4 separate regions of the Homo sapiens genome follow, and all the other regions are linked to region 2. Evidence: promoter capture Hi-C in 16 types of primary human blood cells and fetal thymus (Javierre and others, 2016). All regions are on one chromosome and are shown on one strand. Each heading gives the region's core, a stretch centred on a gene start or on the middle of the fragment in contact. The rest is flanking DNA. Distances are from core to core; before and after follow the strand shown.

Region 1 (4,426 bases), core at 1,712-4,211, 650 kb after region 2:
TTTTGTATTTTTAGTAGAGATGGGGTTTCACCATGTTGGTCAGGCTGGTCTCGAACTCCTGACCTCAGGTGATCTGCCTGCCTCAGCCTCCTAAAGTGCTGGGATTACATGTGTGAGCCACCGCTCCTGGCTGGCATGTGATAGTTAATGTTACAGTTTTATAGTGCAAATGTTAACTGGAAAGAGTAAATAGTTTGTAAATAGTTTTCTTCAGACTCTAAAGTAATTGTTAATAATTTTGCTTCTGGGAAAACATTTTGCAGCAAACATTCTAGATAGTGTTGTATTTCCGCCTCTGTTTTGATATGCTATAATTAGAGGAGTTGTCAGGGCTCTGCTGTAAATCCTAAATTTTTCCATCAAGGCTTCAACTTGGAGTTATGTATTTGTTTGAAGAAACTCAGATGTCCTGTGAATTGCGGATCTCAGTAAAATCAAGTGTCGTAAGAATTACTTCTAACCTGATTTATCCTAAACCACACTCCTTTACTATGAGGATCTATATCTTTCTAAAACGGGCTTTATTTATATTCGAGTTGTTTTATAATGTGCTTGGGGCATTTGCTCTGGAGCTGCCTAGTGGCATAGCTACATTATAATTGGCTCCCTTTGGGATATTAATTAGGTGGAATGTCAGTCATCTGTCTTATATGGCATGCTTCTGTGAAACAAACATGGAGCACATGAAGTCCTAATATAACTTCTAGAAGTATATTTGGAAAACTGAAACTTCATAAATTTGCATTGTGTTAAGTTTATGCAAATTCTATAGTCTGTTTTCTTGTTGCCCCTCCCCTGCTTCTTGGGGTAAGTGAATCTATCCTTTTACAAATTCTGTGTTCCCTATTTTTCTCTGCCTCCAAAATGTGGTTGAATAACAATTGCAAGATTGTCTTAGGGTGGACTGTTTTTAGAAAAGGTCTGTGAAAAAGTGGATATATGTATTTGTTGTCATGAAAAATGAAAGTTACTCCAGGGATAAGGAAAGAAATTGCTACAGGCAGATGTAGTGCACCAAGCACACTGTTGAGCAGAGTGGTAAGGATGTGTGCCCTGGGCTTCACCTAGCTAGGGAGTGCTACCACGCAAGAATTCTCATGGCTGACCTTGTGACAGTAAATGTGTAGCTACTGGAGAACTACCCTAATGTACCTAAGGAATATCTTAATGTTTGCAAACAAGGAAGAATCTTGGGAAAAGTAACACAAACATAGCTTTTCTTGCTTTAAAAGAATTTGTCTTAATAGTGTTACTAATGTGATTTATATCCAAATTGGTCTTTTCAAGTCCTACCCACTCAGAGGTACCAGTCATCATTAGAAGTGTTATTCTTAAATGCAAAATTCTATTGGCTATATGGTAAAAAAAAATATATTAGAAATATCCTCTAATTAGAGTTTTTATTTGGAAATGTACGCAATTATTTTTTTCAACAGCCGTGCCATTACAAATTACATATATCTTTGACATGTGGCATGGTTCACTAATTTCTATACAATAACTAAGATTTACTGCCCAAATGTAAACTCTGATTTTAGAAGTGTATGAGATGAAGAATGTAGAATCCAAATCTCTGGCTGCTTTATTTGGGATAGCTGGTATATATCTGAGGATTGTATATATATCAGAAACATTATTCAAAGGAGTCTTCCTTTAGAACAGGGGAATCTTTAAGTGGAAAGCAATTTCTATTTTAATACCTAAGCACTCACCGATCTCTGTCAGTTTTGTAAGTTCTATTTTCAATGTATTGACATTTCTGTTTGGTGATAGGTTGGGGGATATTTTTGAGTTCAAACATTTTAATGGTCTTCTTTCTGGACTCAGGTTAATATAGCATTTTATTTTTCCTGTTCTAAGATTGGAAGGTTACTTCCTTTAGACTTGTAGTTCTGATTCAGACACACTAGAGTTCAGATTTCTCTTCTAGGTCCTCATTGTTAAATAGGCTCAAAAGCTATTAATATTATTAAACCCCAGTTTTACATTGGAAGGTTTTAAAAATTCCTCATCTATTTTTTTTTACATTAAGTAAGCCCAACATCTCTATTTAGTTTTTTTTCCAGATGAAAAATAGCATTCAAGTGACTTAGTCATGGCCTCATGGCAGGTTAGTGATAGCTAGATCTACAACTCAAGCCTATAAGCCATAAGCATTAAGAGCTCTTTCATTATAGAACCTTGTCCTAATTTTCACTATAAAAGCTTTATAATTTACATTTATTTGATAGGTAAAATAGAGCATTTTTTAGAAATCAATAGGATGTGGAGTTCTTTAGAGTTTTCCCTCTAGGTTAAATAACCAAGGATTGGCTGATTGCAAGGTTTTAAGGGAAGATTAGGATAAAATTCCCATTATTGCGTAGCATCATGTATGACTTCTTTCTTTAAAGAAAACTGCAAAAATTCTCCAAGTTAGTTAACTTCTGTAAAGTGAAAAGCTCCTTTATCCTCTAATAAATTAAGAAGGCATAAAAATGTCCCCCAGTGAACAGTGCCTGAAAAATTCCTAGATGTGGTCCATTTATTTACAAGATGAATTCAGTGAAAAGAGATGGTGTTTTTGAGTCTTTCTGTTGAAAACAGCTCTGTGTATTAATTCCTTTAAGAGAGCGAGAACGGGAGAGACACAGGCATCGAGACAACCGAAGATCACCATCTCTGGAAAGGTCCTACAAAAAAGAGTATAAGAGATCTGGAAGGTAAGCAAGGAGTTGACACTGAAAGAAGTCATAGGATTATCTCCTTGAATTCAGATTTTGTGCTTGTATGGAGCAACAGCCAAGTCTTCATAATGGCCTCAGAGTCTGTCCAAGATGACCTGTGAAAAGCTAAAGCAGACTGTAATTTAAAAGACTTTACTTTCAAGATGCATTGATTATGCACAAGGAAAATCTTGATAAATTTCCAAAAATTAGAAATTATACAGACCACTTTTTCTGACCACAGTGCTATAAAACTATACATTAATCATTTTAAAAAACCTTGGAAATTCATAATTATGCTCTTAAATTTACATGTTTCAGAAAAAAAGAGCAAAACTGCAGTCATATTTTCATTAGAAAATGACATTGAGATTGCTATCACCCAAAACTTAAAGGGTGTAATCAATTCTATATCCCGAAGTAAAATTTTGTGGTCTTACATTAATATGATGGTAATGAAGAACAGCACTCTAGAATCTGACAGATTCGGGGTCAGTTATTAGCTCTCCCAATTTTATTACTGGGCAAAGTTATCAGTGTCTTCGTTTGTAAAATAAGGACAGTTATATGTACCTTCTTGAGTGATAAGGGGTCATTGAGATAATGCATGTCAAACACTTAGAACTGGGCCTGAAGTAAGTGCCAAATAAATGGTAACTATGTATATAATTATTATCTGAGCACTTGGCTATAGAAATTGGTGGAGCTTAAGAAAAGCAGAAAAAGGGATTTAAAGATAAATTAATGAAATGGAAATAGAACTACAGTGATATAACTATATTGTAAGTAAATGCAAATACAATTTTTAAAGTGGGAAATAAAAGAAAAATCTACATAACATTAGGTTTGAGAAAGTGTATTGTTACAGGAATGAAAAGAAATTAAAAAATTTAAAACCGTTTAAAAAATTAACTTGAATGTGATGGGTTGATTTCTAAGAAAACAAAAATAATTTCACACAAGAAGCAGAAAACTTTAATAGGTCAATAACTCGAAAAATGGAAAAAGCTTACTTTGCACCACCTCTAAAAAAAGCTTTAAAGTGGTCTTGAACACTAAAAAAAGATGGAAGGAAAGCTCAGCTCATTCTGTAGTAGCAGGAAAAACCAGATGGCAAAACCTAACCAAGGGAAAAAAAATGACACAAAAACGACACAGCAATCTCTCTTACAAATATGGATATAAAAACACGAATTAGGATATTAGCAAATGTTTTCAGTAGTTTGTTAAAATAACAGATAGAGTTTATTCCAAGACTGCATGGATAGAAAAGTTAATATTAGAAAATCTGTATTGTATGTGTCAAAATCTGTAGGGTTATCTCAGTACTTACCTTTTAGGTATTTAAACTAAAATCAGCATCCATATGTGAGTAAAAACTAGTAAACTAGAAATATTAACAGTTGTCTTTAACATGATGAAGAATGGTAGCTCACGATGAACCTGATGGATACCATCCCCAAAGAGTCAAATGTGGTGTTGAAACCTGCAGGCCTTTCCCATACAAATTTGAAAAAAGGCAAGGAGGCCCCATTGCTTATCGTTGTTACTGAATATCCTTGTGATACAATCAACATGGTAATTAAAAACATGGTGTTTTTGTGTGTCCCGGGTATTGTACTGGTATGGGTGATATAGGCATTAACAAAGGCCCCCACTTAATAGGAAAAGGAAAGTTAAGTGCTGTAAGTGCGTTTGATAGGACACTTACATGTTGCTCT
Region 2 (4,822 bases), core at 2,188-4,687:
AGCTTGCTGGAGCTAAATGCTACTGAGAAGTTGTATAAACGATCTCAGGACAGTTCATGTGAGGAAAGAAAGGGGTCCTGTTATCCACCTGCTTGAAGTGCTTACTCTCCCACACTTGTAGGTAGGCATGGAGGTGCTGCCAGACCGCACTGCATGAGATGGTTGCAGTCCATGTGGAGCTGGTCAGCACAGCAGCAGCACCTAACCTGCAGGGTCCTGGTGGGGGTTGCTGGAGACCGCGCCTGGCACATCTCAGCAGGCAATAAACAAACAATCAAGGCCAGGCGCGGTGGCTCATGCCTGTAATCCCGGCACTTTGGGAGGCCGAGGCTGCTGGATTGCCTGAGGTCAGGAGTTCAAGACCAGTCTGGCCAACATGGTGAAACCCCGTCTCTACTAAAAATACAAAAAAATTAGCTGGGCGTGCCAGGCGCGGTGGCTCACGCCTGTAATCCCAGCACTTTGGGAGGCCGAGGCGGGCAGATCACCTGAGGTCAGGAGTTCGAGACCAGCCTGACCAACATGGAGAAACCCCGTCTCTACTAAAAATACAAAATTAGCCAGGCGTGGTGACACATGCCTGTAATCCCAGTTACTCGGGAGGCTGAGGCAGGAGAATCGCTTGAACCTGGGAGGCAGAGGTTGCGGTGAGCCGAGATTGCGCCATTGCACTCCAGCCTGGGCAACAAAACTCCGTCTCAAAAAAATAAATAAATAAATAAATAAATAAATTAGCTGGGCGTGGTGGCATGTGCCTGTAATCCCAGCTACTCGGCAGGCTGAGGCAGGGGAATTGCTTGAACCTGGAGGTGGAGGTTGCAGTGAGCCGAGATCACGCCACTGCACTCCAGCCTGGGCGACAGAATGAGACTCTGTCTCAAAAATAAATAAATAAATAAATAAAAATTTTTTAAAAAGTAACACTCATTGTTGTAATTAGGAATATTCTCATTCCTAAAATTCCTTCTTTTTTCCTTCCTAAAATATCCTTTCTTCCTCTTCCTGTTTTTAAAATATCTCCTTCCTTCCTCCCTCACTTCTTCCCCAGCTGCCCTCCACCCCCACCCATCATGATGGCTGGGGGTGGAGGGCAGCTGGGGAGGAAAAAAGCTGCATAGACTTTCATGACCTGAGAAGTGCCACACAGTCATGTTGGCCACATTCTATTCATTTCAAGAGAGTCACTAAGTCTGGCCCACACTCAGGGGGAGGGAAATTAGGCTTCACATTTTGAGGGGAGGAGTATCAGAGGATTTGTTGGCATTAAAACCTTCAGGAGAGAAAGGAGAACAACTGGGTGAACAGGGGCAGAGCTGGGAGGGAGATTTTCACTACACATATCTTTGTACTCTTTGAACTACATACTTGACTATATTAGTCAAGTAATTTTTTTTTTTTTTTGAGACGGAGTCTCGCTCTGTCACCCAGGCTGGAGTGCAGTGGCGCAATCTCTGCTCACTGCAAGCTCCGCCTCCGGGGTTCACGCCATTCTCCTGCCTCAGCCTCCCGAGTAGCTGGGACTACAGGGGCCCGCCACCACGCCCGGCTAATTTTTTGTATTTTTAGTAGAGACGGGGTTTCACCGTGTTAGCCAGGATGGTCTCGATCTCCTGACCTCCTGATCCGTCCGCCTTGGCCTTCCAAAGTGCTAGGATTACAGGCGTGAGCCAACGCGCCCAGCCAATTTTTTTTTTTTTTTTTTGAGACAGGGTCTTGCTCTGTCTCTCAGGCTGGTGTGCAGTGGCACGATCACCCTCATGGCAGCCTCAAATTCTGGGCTCAAGCGGTTCTCCTGCCTCAGCCTCCCGAAGACCTGGGACTACAGATGTGGGCCACTACTCCTGATTAACTTTTTTCACATAATAAATTAATTACATTTATTTTACAAAGAAATATTTCAAGCTACAACATTTGGTAAAATCAGAAAAGATGAAGAAAAAAGGTCCAAAGAGGGTGTGGGCTGGCGCGGTGGCTCACGCCTGTAATCCCAGCACTTTGGGAGGCCAAGGCCGGCGGATCACGAGGTCAGGTGATCGAGACCATCCTGGCTAACACGGTGAAACCCCGTCTCCACTAAAAATACAAAAAATTAGCCAGGCGTGGTGGCGGGCGCCTGTAGTCCAGCTACTCAGGAGGCTGAGGCAGGAGAATGGCGTGAACCCGGGAGGCAGAGCTTGCAGTGAGCCGAGATTGTGCCACTGCACCCCAGCCTGGGCAACAGAGCAAGACTCCGTCTCAAAAAAAAAAAAAAAAAAAAAAAAAAGAGGGTGTGAATGGGAGAAATTGGTTGAGGTGAAATCGACCTTCACCAAGACAGGTGGGAAAAAGGGAAGGTCTACTTGGTGTGCCCCCTGGACCCTCTCTTCCCTTCATTTAGCACTGTCACTTTCCAGGGCATGGGATGGTAGGCAGCAGCAGTTCTGGATAATGGATTTGTGGAAGAGAAGAATCCATCTAAAGCACTCTTTAGCCACAGCCCATGATCACTTTTTTTAAAAAATTTTTATTTTTTGCTTTGCTGTTGTTCCACTCTGTCCATACATTGTTTAATACAGGATGGCACACAATACCATTCCTGGTTAAATGTTTCACTTAACAAGCGCCACCCTCTACTCCTCCAACTCCTGTCTCAGGTTTGACAGCTATTTTTTTAACCTAATTTGCGCACGCCAAGAGGATTTCACCTAGTAACTACACGGAGAGACATCCGATGCGTACAAAGACGTGGCATGAAACGCTGCAGGTTTATTGTCTCTATAAAAAGATCGTTAAGGTCGAGCGTGCTAACGTGTGCGGTACTAACTGTACTCACTACGCCCTGGTCACTTTATAGCACAAGTCCGAGGCAAGGAAAGAAGTTTTACAAACAAAACTGGTCAACTGTTCTATCTTCTTACTCCTGGAAAACAATAAAGGTCCACTTTCAAACCATTTGGACGCACTTGCTCCTTCTAAAGGGTTAGGGAGTCCCGGCAGATAGCGTACCCCTCCCCGCCCAGCAGCAGAGAGCAAAGTCCTTCCTGCCGATCCTGCAGACCCCGGAGTCCAAATGGGACCCCGTCCACACGACCGCGGAGTCGCCTCCGAAGACGGCGGTGTCTGGGGCGTGGAGGGCACGGCTGGAGGCTGAGTGGGGTCCACCTTCGCGTGGCCCAGGCTCTTCCATTCACGGGGGGCCCCGCCAGGTTCAGGCTCCAGCCCTGGGTAGTGAAGGGGAAACGGGGAACGGAAGGAGGGAGGGCACGTCACGGGAGCAGGACTGCAGGACCGCGGGTCAGGGGGCGCAGGAACGCCAAAGAAAAGACAAGCACCGAGGGCCGGGAAGGGTGTAGGCTGCAGTGGCAGCGGATCCCCGGCCGCCGCTTCCGGCGCCTCCCGGCCCAGCTCTCCCGCGCCGACTCTGCCACATCCTCCGGTGACGTCAGCCGGGGCCGCCATATTGGAAAGGCGCCGCCGCCGCCTCCGCCTTGGAGCTCGGGGTGTTTCGGGGACTGCGGCCACAGGCAGGAAGGCGCTCCTCTCCTGCCCCGCCGACGCCCGGCCAGCCCGCTTCGCCCTGACCTGTTTCCTCATGACTGCCCCCGGCCCTGCTGCCGACGGACGTCGCCCCGGCGTCCGGATTTAACACGGAAACCCGGATCGGAGGCCGCGCGGGGAGGAGGAGGGCGACCCGGTCGGTCCTGCGACCCTCTCGGCCCGGCTCGGCGCCTCGGCGGGAGCCATGACCTCGCTGACCCAGCGCAGCTCCGGCCTGGTGCAGCGGCGCACCGAGGCCTCCCGCAACGCCGCCGACAAGGAGCGGGCGGCGGGCGGCGGCGCCGGCAGCAGCGAGGACGACGCGCAGAGCCGCCGCGACGAGCAGGACGACGACGACAAGGGCGACTCCAAGGAAACGCGGCTGACCCTGATGGAGGAAGTGCTCCTGCTGGGCCTCAAGGACCGCGAGGTGCGGGCGCGGCGGGCTGGGCGGGGGGCGGCGGCGCGGGGCCCGGGCGCCAGGTGAGCTCCAGGTAGGTGCCAGGTGAGCGCCCGAGGCTTCCGGCCCGCGCACCTGCCCTCGCTCCGAAGTCCGCGCCTGGTGGCGCCCAGCTGACGCCGAGCGGTGTCGGAGTTGGTTGACCCCCTGGCGCGGCTGGTGCTTTCTGGATCCTCCCCGTAGAGATGGCTTGGATTTTTCCTTACCCCTTTCACAGTCGCTCCTTTCATTTCGACACCCTGGCAGTTTGTATTTCTTCGTCGCCTTTTTTCCGCGTTTTTAACCCGTGTAGACCCCAGGGTGCAAATCCAACCCGGAGACTGCCCGGGAAACTAACAGCTGGAGCCACCAGCGCCACGAACTCTTTGGGTTTTTGCAGGCTTTAGGACCTGGGAGGGGTGCCCGGATCTGCTTGCTGGGGATGTTTTTTTTTTCTTCTTCTTCAGTTAAAGCTTACTGTTGGGAATTACGAAAAACGTAGGCGAAGTGGTAATAGAGGGAAAAGCTCTTTTACTGAGTAAAGTTAAGTTAAGTTTCTCATGAAACCTCCTGGTAAATGACTTTCTAGGTGAACTTACATTAGGTGAGAGATTATTTTTAGTATCGCTTTTATATTTTATCAGTTGATGAATCTCAAAGTCTTGCCGTCTTAAGAAAGGGCTTTTTCATCGAGTGCTTGAAATGTAGGTTTGTGAGTTGATCAGAGGCCTCAAAGCTTCAGGTGGGTTGAAGTTGCAATAGATAATTCTTTGTATTCTGACTTTGAAAGCGTTTATTTTCACTTCAGTGTCCAAAATTTTCACACACAGAAAAGTTGAAAAAGTGATAGATACATATGCATATATA
Region 3 (5,058 bases), core at 1,720-4,219, 540 kb after region 2:
GCTTAATCCCCCAGTTAAGCCCCTGGGGGGGAATCCCATGGCCCTGGGGTGGTGGTTTTGGTCCCATGAGCACTAGCCACGAGCTCCTGCCGAGTGGACTGTGAGAGCTAATGCCAGCCGCCCTTGGCTCCCGTCCAGGTCACTCGAGGAACCGAGCCTCAGGCTTTTGGGATCCTTCATTCCGGTGGATTTTCAGGAAGGCCTTCAAATATTTTTGGTTCTTTTTTTGTCATCCTTGTCATTCTGCCTACCAAAGGGAGAGGATGATAAGAACATAATAGGAAGACTGCACAGCTCTGCAAATTAAGCTCTCTTAAGAGGAAAAAGCTGGTCTTTTTCAAGTGCTGGCAGATAAGAGTAAAAACATATGAAAAATTGCAAAACCTGGGATAATGAATAGTTGAATAATGCTTTTGACATTTTCTACAGAACAGTAATTGGAAATCTTTGCTTTCGGGGGGATGGGGATGGGACAGGGCAGGCCCCAGCTGCAGTTCTGCCCAGCAAGGCAATAAACTCTGGCCTCTCCGAAAAGCAGGCAGACATAAATCACCTGCGCAGACCGGACAGCGCTGTCCCACCACACCAGAGACCAGAGTGGGCCCAAGGCATTTGGAGGTGGTATTGTCCTCAGGGGCTGGGGTGGAGAAGTTCTTGATTTCAGCTGTTCTTCAGCTTTTATAATTACCAGGCCATTGAGATCAATGCTTGCACAAATCCAAGCATCGTATATGACAAGCTGGGCACTCAGGCACTCAGAGCTTCTCTTCCTATGTGTAAATAGAGAAAACACCTACCATGCAGGATTGCTGGAACTAGCAGTAACACAGCTATTCAGCACAGCACTTAGGAGGTGCTCAATGAAATGGTAACCATTATCAATGAAAGGTATCATTGGGACACTACAAAAAAATCCTTCTAGAAGGATCAAACAGGGCTGGTGCTTTCTGTTTTTTCCACAATCCCAGGCCCATCTTCCACCACTCTGTCCCGTGTTTTCTCAGCCTCTGTACCCAGCACATACCTTGGGCCTACCTCCCTCAGCACCAATGAAAAGTTTGCTGAATCAATGAATATGCAAATAAATGTATCACTCAAACTGTAGTCACTGCTATTTCTTATCCACTCCATCCCCAACTCTTTCATTCCAGCCATGTACTCCTAATCTGTAAATTCTGTTTCCTCTGCCAGAGTGACATTCTCACTCTCCTGTGTCTGCTGAAATCCCAAGGAGGTAAATGTCATCTCTACTGGAAAGGCTTCTCTGATCATCAGAACAAACATCACGTTTCCTCTGCCTTGTTAATTGCTGCAATGGTAGCACTTTATGCAAATTGCTCATCTAACCCTTGTCAGGTGTATTATGTTGTAGGAATTATGGCGTTTTGTCTCACATATTTCTAGCTTGTGAGTTCTTGGAGGTAAGAGAACTTAAAGCTTATTGTTTGTGTTCCCAAAGCCTAGGGTGGCATGGTGTCCGACCCAATAGCCACTCAATAAATATTTGCTGAATTAAAATGAATTGTTAGGTATATACATGTATGTTATATGTGGCATATATTATGTATAAATACAATATATACAGATGTATTTTATAATCTGTCTCCTTCAGACATGGCCCTGCTGACCTGCTTTAAATACTTCGTTTCAATCACTTTTCAGCTGATATTTTCCAGATATTTTTGGCAAGTTCTTATCTGCTAATAATAGCTCAATTCACAGAGGTCAATCAAATGCATGGAAATTTTGTTTTGCCCTTGCAGTCTTGTCAATTTGGAAAGCTGACAACTGAGGGCATTTATTTTCCAATGTTTGAAGATCAAAATGTAAATCCTTTTTGCCCCCTTGTTAAACATTTAGTCACAGATTAGTATTTCTATCAAAGTTGCCATTTTAATTTAGTGCTCATAATATATGTGATGTGGAGGAGGAGGAGGCTGTATATAGAATATCTAAGACTTCAGAGCAAAGGAAGATTAAAATGATAAACAAAGAAAAAATGTGTGATCCCAAGCTATATCAGTGACAGAATGTAGCGTGGTTTAGGTGAGTCCAAGTAGATTCTCATGGATTGCAGTGCCATGTGGTTTACTTCTGAGCTTTCTCCCTCTATGAAGAAAAATCTACAGACCAGGCAGCTGAAACTAAAACTGGAGGTTTGCTTACCAACTCTTGAAAAGACTGCTTTCCATCTTTCCGCCTCAGCTGCTCTTCCAAGTAAATTTCAAGGGAGGAGAAGTAGCCTTAGTCAACAACTGGCTCAATTCCCTTTCTCCTCCCAGCCTCTGTGGGTTCATTTTATCTCCAAAACAGATTCTAGCTTCCTGTTTACCTAGCGAATTACCCTTTTTTCTTTCTTCCACAAATTCCTGGCCACTAACTCTTCCATTCATGACCTCACGCTAGAACGAGCCATCTCCTGGCCAAGAAAGGGGCTTAAAAAGAACAAATGAGGCCAAGTGCCCTGGCTCATGCCTGTAATCCCAGCACTTTGGAAGGCCGAGAGGGGCGGATCACTTGAGGTCAGGAGTTCGAGACCAGCCTGGCCAACAGGGTGAAACCCAGCTTCTGCTAAAAATGCAAAAGTTAGCTGGGCATGATAGCGGGCGCCTGTAATCCCAGCTACTGGGGAGGCTGAGGCAGGAGAATTGCTTGAGCCTGGGAGGTGAAGTTTGCAGTAAGCCAAGATCACGCCACTGTACTCCTCTCTGGGAGTCAGAGCAAGACTCCGTCTCAAAGAAAAAGAACAAATGAGTGACGATGGTAGTAAAACATTAAGTCAGTGGATCTCAGTCTGGACTACACTTAAGGATTCCCAGAAGTTTGAAAATTTAAAAAACTCCAGACTCACCCCCTGAGATCACTATATACTTGGTCTTTGGGGAGCCCCTGGATGCCCCTTAACCAGAACCCCAGTGATTGTAATTTGGGTGGCCCACACAGGATAACTTGGAGAAACACTGAAGTAGAGTGACATGACAGCTGAGAGGGTGCCCAAGGTCACATTCCAGTACTTGGTCATAGTACTGTAGAGATAAGACTTTATTTTAAACATTGATAAAAATGTTGTAATATTTATCCCGTCTCAGATGAAATATTTTATTTAGCCAAAACACAAAAAAGGACCTGCATTTGATGCATACTGGTTTTTTTCTTTTTCTTTCTTTCTTTCTTTTTTTTTTTTTTTGAGATGAAGTGTCGCTCTTTTTGCCCAGGCTGGAGTGCAATGGCGCGATCTTGGCTCCCTGCAACCTCTGCCTCCTGGGTTCAAGTGATTCTCCTGCCTCAGCCTCCTGAGTACTTGGGATTACAGGTGCCCACCACCACCCCCAGCTAATTTTTGTATTTTTAGTAGAGACAGGGTTCCACCATGTTGGCCAGGCTGGTCTCAAACTCCTGACCTCAGGTGATCCGCCTGCCTCGGCCTCCCAAAGTGCTGGGATTACAGGCGTGAGCCACTGCACCCAGCCCATACTGTCTTAAAATATATATTTAGGGGAAAGGTTTAAGTAAGCACTTTTCATCCACGTACATTGAAAATGAGTTTCACTGTATCCATGAGCGTGACGTTGGATTTTATGCAAATGTGTTTTATTGTTTCCAGTGTGGTCTAATAATACTGCACGTGAAGAATTTGTAATTTTCTCCTGGGCTTCCCCTTACAAGCCAACCCATTATTTTATATCTTTGTCTCTCAGCCTTCCATTTGTACTATTGAAGCATTGGTTGCCACGGTAATTTTTTTATACAATTTTTGGCAGAAAAAACTGAATTACAAACTAGTAACTACAGACCACGTATGACTTTCACAATTTATATAGATGATTCAATCATTTTGCAATAGGGTAGAGTGTAGTGTTTATCCAAGTAGATTCTTTTGGACTGTGGTGGGATTTGATTTACCTTTGAGTTTACTTGCTTAACACACATTAAGACACCAGCAAGACAGGCCTGGCGTGGTGGCTCACGCCTGTAATCCCAGCACTTTGAGAGGCCGAGCTGAGTGGATCACCTGAGGTCAGGAGTTCAAGACCAGCCTGGCCAACATGGCGAAACCTCATCTCTACTAAAAATATAAAAATTAGCTGGGTGTGGTGGCAGGTGCCTGTAATCCCAGCTACTCAGGAGACTGAGATAGGAGAATCGCTTGAACCTGAGAGGCAGAGGTTGCAGTGAGCCAAGATCGCACCACTGCCCTCCAGCCTGGGAGACACAGCAAGACTCCATCTCAAAAAAAAAAAGACACTAGCAAAACAAACCTACTAAAAAAAAAGATAGAAAGACAGAGGTTCAGTTTTGATTAGCATAACCAGTACTCTGCTATCAGTATATCTAAAGAGAGCTGTTTTAGTTATACACACACATAGGTTTTGTTTTATACTTGGCCTTTGTCTTTATTTTGGTTTACACAAGAGACAGGACATGGCACTGAGTCTTCTTGGGGCTTGCAGCTTCTGTCACCCAGGCACAGTAGTGCCCCCCGCAAAGTTGGGAAGCTTGGGTTCTCCCCCATTCCCTGTTCCCTGGATGTTAGAATTCAGTCAAATCACCGTGTATCCAAATTTGTAGACCACAGGATTTAGGTAAGCTATTTGCACAACACATTCTCATCCCTAATTCCTATCTCCCCTGCTGATCATTCTTGTTCTGTTCTGCATTACTTACTTATGGAAAGGGATTATTTTAAGTCAATCACATGCTATTTTTACTCCTTCATCAGATACTTCTACTTCCAGATATTTTCCACTGAATAATCTCAAAAAAAGTAATTATAAAAATAAATTATATTTCTTATGTATCTATTCCATTTTCTTTGGGTTTTTTTTTGTTGTTGTTGGTTTGTTTGTTTTTTGAGACAGGTTCTTACTCTGTCACCCAGGCTGGAGTGCAGTGGCATGATCATGGCTCACTGCAGCCTCAACCTCCCAGGCTCAAGCGATCCTCCCACCTCAGCCGCCCAAGTAGTTGGGACTGCAGGTGCATCCCACCACTCTTAGCTAATTTTTTATTATTTGTAGAGAAGGGATCTCACTATGTTGCCAAGGCTGGTCTTGAACT
Region 4 (4,817 bases), core at 331-2,830, 570 kb after region 2:
ATTACAGGCGTGAGCCACTGTGCCCAGCATCCCAGGCTTTCTTGACAACTGGCTTCCAGTAGCCAATGGGATACCCTAGCAGGAGATCAGAAGGTGGGAGAAGAGAAACATATGGGTTATTTGTTCCCCTCTTCCTCTCTGTTTTGGTGTTAGGCCTCTGATAGTAGTGACACCTCTCCACAACTATCGATTCTGCTGGATGGCACCTTCCCATCTCCAGCTCTCACCAGACTCCAGGAATTCTATTTCCTCCCCGCTGTCTCCTTTGCCCTTCATGTGGTCATGGCTACCCTTGCTTGCTAGCCTCTGGGTGTCTCCATAACCTTTGTTGGTTCCTTTATCCATATCTCTGAAAAAAATTCCCTTACTAAAGTCCTGTCTTTGGAACTAGTTGAAGTGAAGCCTGCTTTCTGCTGGGATCATGGCTGACACACTTCATCTCTCTTTATTTCAAACAAGTAAGACTAGTGAAGCAGAAAAAAGAGGGGAGAAAATGGCTTGAGGAAGAGAAAGGAACAGTGTGGTTTTAAAAGGCAACACTTAACAAGAAAACAATTGAGTAAAACCCATCAAAAAGAAAATGCTCTTTTCTTTGCAATGGACCCCCTAGTAAGATGTCACTCAGTAAAGTGGTCATCAACCTACTCTTTTGAGCTTTGCTTTTACCAAAGAAGTCCAGTCTTGATGAGCTTTATCACTCCTTGTCATCTTTTACTTGTTCATTTCAAAGCAAAAAGGGAACTTATATTGACTGAACATATTATATGTGCTCATAACTCTTGACAATACTTGAGGTGTTATGAATTGCGTTTTAAAGTGGAGGAAACTGAGGCTCTTGAGAGATCCAATAATTTGCTCCAAATCATATAACTAGCAGGTAGTAAAGCCAGAATGAATAACTTAGCATATATGCTTTCATACAGAATATTGCTTTCGTTAAAGTATTTCTCTTTGACTGCAATCTTAAGACACTATGGGCTTAAGACACTTAAGACACTATGGGCGCGGTGGCTCATGCTTATAATCCCAGCACTTTGGGAGGCCAAGGCGGGCAGATCATTTGAGGTCAGGAGTCTGAGATGAGCCTGACCAACATGGTGAAACCATGTCTCTACTAAAAATACAAAAAAAATTAGCCGGGTTTGATGGCACATGACTGTAGTCCCAGCTACTCGGGAGGATGAGGCAGGAGAATTGCTTGAACCCAGGAGACAAAGGTGGCAGTGAGCCAAGATTGTGCCACTGCACTCCAGCCTGGGAGACAGAGTGAGACTCTGTCTCAAAAAACAAAAACAAAAAACACGCTATGACCCTCTACAAAAAGATCTTATTGTTTCTAAATATTTTTGATGAAAAATAGTTGATCCACTTGTTTATTTTTTGTCTCTTTTGAGACTCCTCTGTAATGACAGCTAATGAAAGGAAAATATGTAAGCCCAAATGATGATATAAAGGGTAGAAGGGCTATCAGTTGATGAACACCAAAGGAGTGGTTGTTGATGTAGAGTGAGAGGTAGGCATATCTTAAAGGGTTTCCAGAGGAAATTATGGGCAAAAAGGAAGATTATTTGAGTGATAGAACCCTGAAGAACTTTGGGAGCAAAGAGTGGACATGCATTGGTGGACAAGAGTAAGAAGTGGGGCTGAAAACAGAACTGATGTAAAAACAGATATCTAGTGTCCCTGATTATCTGTACAAATGTACATATTTTTTAAAGCGAGGTATTGAACAGATAATTGGGAAGTCTAGGTTTGTTATTGTGGCTTGTCACTTTTTCTTCTTTGCTGTAGGATGATCAAGAAGAAACAAGACTATTATTCTTCCCATCTCTACCCCAACTCTCTCTTCCTCTCTCAGAAGGACAGCAGCAAGGTTATCTACCAGGTAGGCAAGAAATTACAGGTTCCTCCTCTAGAGAAATTAAATAGTCATAGAGAAAAGACCTCCACATTTTGGCCTTTGGGAGTTCCCTGAGATAATGGTCATTGCCCACACCTGATCACTCTCGACACACTTGTTCACAAACACAGCTCTCAGCTTTTTTTTTTTTTTTTTTTTTTTTTTTTTTTTGAGACAGAGTCTTGCTCTGTCGCCCAGGCTGGAGTGCAGTGGCACGATCTCGGCTCCACTTCCCGGGTTCATGCCACTCTCCCGCCTCAGCCTCCCGAGTAGCCGGGACCACAGGCGCCCGCCACCAAGCCCAGCCAATTCTTCTGTATTTTTAGCAGAGACAGGGCTTCACCATGTTAGCCAGGATGGTCTTGATCTCCTAACCTCGTGATCCGCCCGCCTCGGCCTCCCAAAGTGCTGGGATTACAGGCGTGAGCCACCGCGCCCGGCCAGCTCTCAGCTTTTCTGTGTCCCATTCTCAAATATAAATGAACTTAAGAGTATTCAAATAACAACAACAAAAACATCAGGAAAATAAAAATTAGACGGCAGAAATGAAAATCTCAATAGTAAAGTAGAGGGTATAGTTAGGGAATCCAAAACCAGAGCAAAGTGGCAAATAATTGGACAATAAGAGAGAAAACATAAGAAATTAGATGCTCAATCCAGGAAGCCTGACAACTAATTAATAGGAGTGCCAGAAAGAGAACAGAAAAGACTGGTGGAGAAAAGTATTAATAAAATAACGTAAGAGAATTTTTCAGAGCTGAAGAACATGAGCCTTTTCTCAAAAAGAACTTTTTGGTATCTAGCCCAATGAGTAAAAGACAAATGAACAAACAAACAAATATCCCACAAGGCCAGGCACGATGGCTCACGCCTGTAATCCCAGCACTTTGGGAAGCCAAGGCAGGAGGATTGCTTGAGCACAGGAGTTCGAGACCAGCCTGGGCAACATAGTGAAACCCTGTCTCTACAAAAAATACAAAAACTTAGCTAGGCGTGGTGGCACATTCCTGTAGTCCCAGCTACCCGGGAGGCTGAGGTAGACGAATCACCTGAGCCCAAGAGATCGAAGCTGCCATGGGCCATCCTCATGCCACTGCACTCCAGCCTTGGTGACAGAGTGAGACGCCGTCTCAAAAAAAAAAAAAAAAAAAAAATTCCCATCAAATAACATAAACCAGTGACAACAAAGGACTTATTATTACAAAATTTCAAACCCTAGGGATAAACAGAAGTCTCTAAAAGCTCTGGTAGGAGTGGAGAAATAGAGTGGAGACAGAAAACTAATGAATAGAAGATTGTGAATAAGAATGGCATCAAACTTCTCATGGAAATAGAAGGTAGAAGATAATGGAGATATACCTTCAAATTTCCAAGGGAAAGTTATTTTTTGTTTAACCAAGAATTACATATTTAGCCAAATTTGCTATCAAGTAAAAGGGTAGAAAAGAGACATTTTTACACATACAAGTCTTCAAAAAATGTACCTCCTGTGAAATTAAATAATTCAAACTTAAAGCTGTTGGACATTTGAATTATTCTGAGCTTCAAGTGGAGGGTGGCTATGTAGTCTGAGTCACGCAGCATGCAGCTGCAACTTCTGCCTTGTTTTCTTGTAAATGATTAAGAAGACCAAATGGCCTCAGACATGAGACCCCCTCAGATCACTACCTCCCTCATGGAGCAATAGAGTAATCTTCCTTGGGATGTAGCAATCTGTAACCAATCAAATTGCTCTCATATACGGAACGGTCTTGTAAGGAAAATGCTGTAATCTGCTAAAATTTCTCTGTTTCTGCCTATATAAGTGAAACCTTAACTTTTTTTTTTTTTTTTTTTTTGAGACAGAGTCTTGCTCTGTCGCCAGGCTGGATGGAGTTCAGTGGCGCGATCTTAGCTCACTGCAACCTCCACCTCCCAGGTTCAAGTGATTCTCCTGCCTCAGCCTCCCAAGTAGCTGGGACTACTAGTGCATGCCACCACACTAGGCTAATTTTTGTATTTTTAGTAGAGATGGGCTTTCACCATGTTGGACAGGATGGTCTCGATCTCTTGACCTCATGATCCACCCGCCTCGGCGTCCCAAAGTGCTGGGATTACAGGCTTGAGCCACCGCGCCTGGCCTGAAACCTTAACTTCTCCACTTTGGAATTCTGACCTTGTTTGTTTGTAGTCACTGGTTCCCGTGCGGCCATCCTCAAGGCTTGTGTTTGAATAGACTATGTACAAATTTATATTTTCTGTATCTCATTACTTAAGGTTGACATTTTGGCGACCATGATGGGACTTGAAGCAGAACTTCAGCAATCCTCATCGCTTTGTCAACAACTTGAGCCTTGGTACCAGCACAAATGATTTTCATTTTCCTGACTTCACAGGCTATGCAAATCTCTGGTAAGGCCCCTTTCAAGTTTGAGTTCTCCTGGATTGGTTGAGGATGCAGACTTTATTTGCATTACACACATTCCTAACTCAATGGGGTTGGAACTGAAGTTCTACAACAAGGTAGGAGTTTGGTTTGTTATTCTCTAGAGATTCTGATAATTGCAGATTTGTGATTTTCACTTTTCTCTGAGCTTAAGGTTTTATTTGGAACTACTGCTTGGAGTTTTCCAACCTTTTCTCTTGTACCAAATTTTGGTTAGGGAGAAAACAGTTTCTCTCTGAAAAGAGGAAGTGAATCTCTGTGGCTTAAGCGAAAATTTTATAAACTTTAGAGCTGGTCAGATTCTGAAGCTTGGTTCAATTGACAAATCTAAGCTTTTTTTTTTTTTTTTGAGTGACAATATTACAAAAGGCTCTCTATGAGGACAAGATAAGTCCTGAGGATAAGAGACATTGTCTTTCCCAGCCAAAAGGCACCTTTAGTGAGTAAGGTCTTGAGGGAGTGTTGGAGCTTATCGCTCATGACATAAACTGT

The links. The method cuts DNA at HindIII sites, captures the fragments that hold promoters and counts their contacts. A CHiCAGO score of 5 or more calls a contact.
Region 1: a contact is called between a fragment that was not itself captured here and the fragment with the promoter of GOLPH3 in region 2, in 8 of 17 cell types (naive CD4 T cells, total CD8 T cells, total CD4 T cells and 5 more). The highest score is 13.5, in naive CD4 T cells.
Region 3: a fragment that was not itself captured here is called in contact with the fragment with the promoter of GOLPH3 in region 2 in 2 of 17 cell types (activated CD4 T cells and non-activated CD4 T cells); the score reaches 7.8 in activated CD4 T cells.
Region 4: a fragment that was not itself captured here is called in contact with the fragment with the promoter of GOLPH3 in region 2 in 1 of 17 cell types (M0 macrophages); the score reaches 5.7 in M0 macrophages.

Annotation. Positions count from the first base shown.
Region 1 is chr5:31,519,399-31,523,824 of GRCh38, reverse strand. DROSHA (drosha ribonuclease III) reads left to right here. Exons shown (of 36, transcript NM_001382508.1): 6 at 2,610-2,702. Among named protein-coding and RNA genes, the nearest start is that of DROSHA, 10 kb to the left of the region's middle. RefSeq lists an enhancer at 1,478-1,647. The HindIII fragment of the contact is 1,508 bases long and covers 2,208-3,715 here.
Region 2 is chr5:32,172,934-32,177,755 of GRCh38, reverse strand. GOLPH3 (golgi phosphoprotein 3) reads left to right here and starts at 3,437. Exons shown (of 4, transcript NM_022130.4): 1 at 3,437-3,946. The coding sequence starts at 3,722. RefSeq lists a silencer at 3,544-4,153. The HindIII fragment of the contact is 5,568 bases long and covers 1-4,430 here.
Region 3 is chr5:31,633,564-31,638,621 of GRCh38, reverse strand. No RefSeq gene overlaps it. Among named protein-coding and RNA genes, the nearest start is that of PDZD2, 3.0 kb to the left of the region's middle. The HindIII fragment of the contact is 3,059 bases long and covers 1,440-4,498 here.
Region 4 is chr5:31,598,901-31,603,717 of GRCh38, reverse strand. No RefSeq gene overlaps it. Among named protein-coding and RNA genes, the nearest start is that of PDZD2, 38 kb to the left of the region's middle. The HindIII fragment of the contact is 6,111 bases long and covers 1-4,635 here.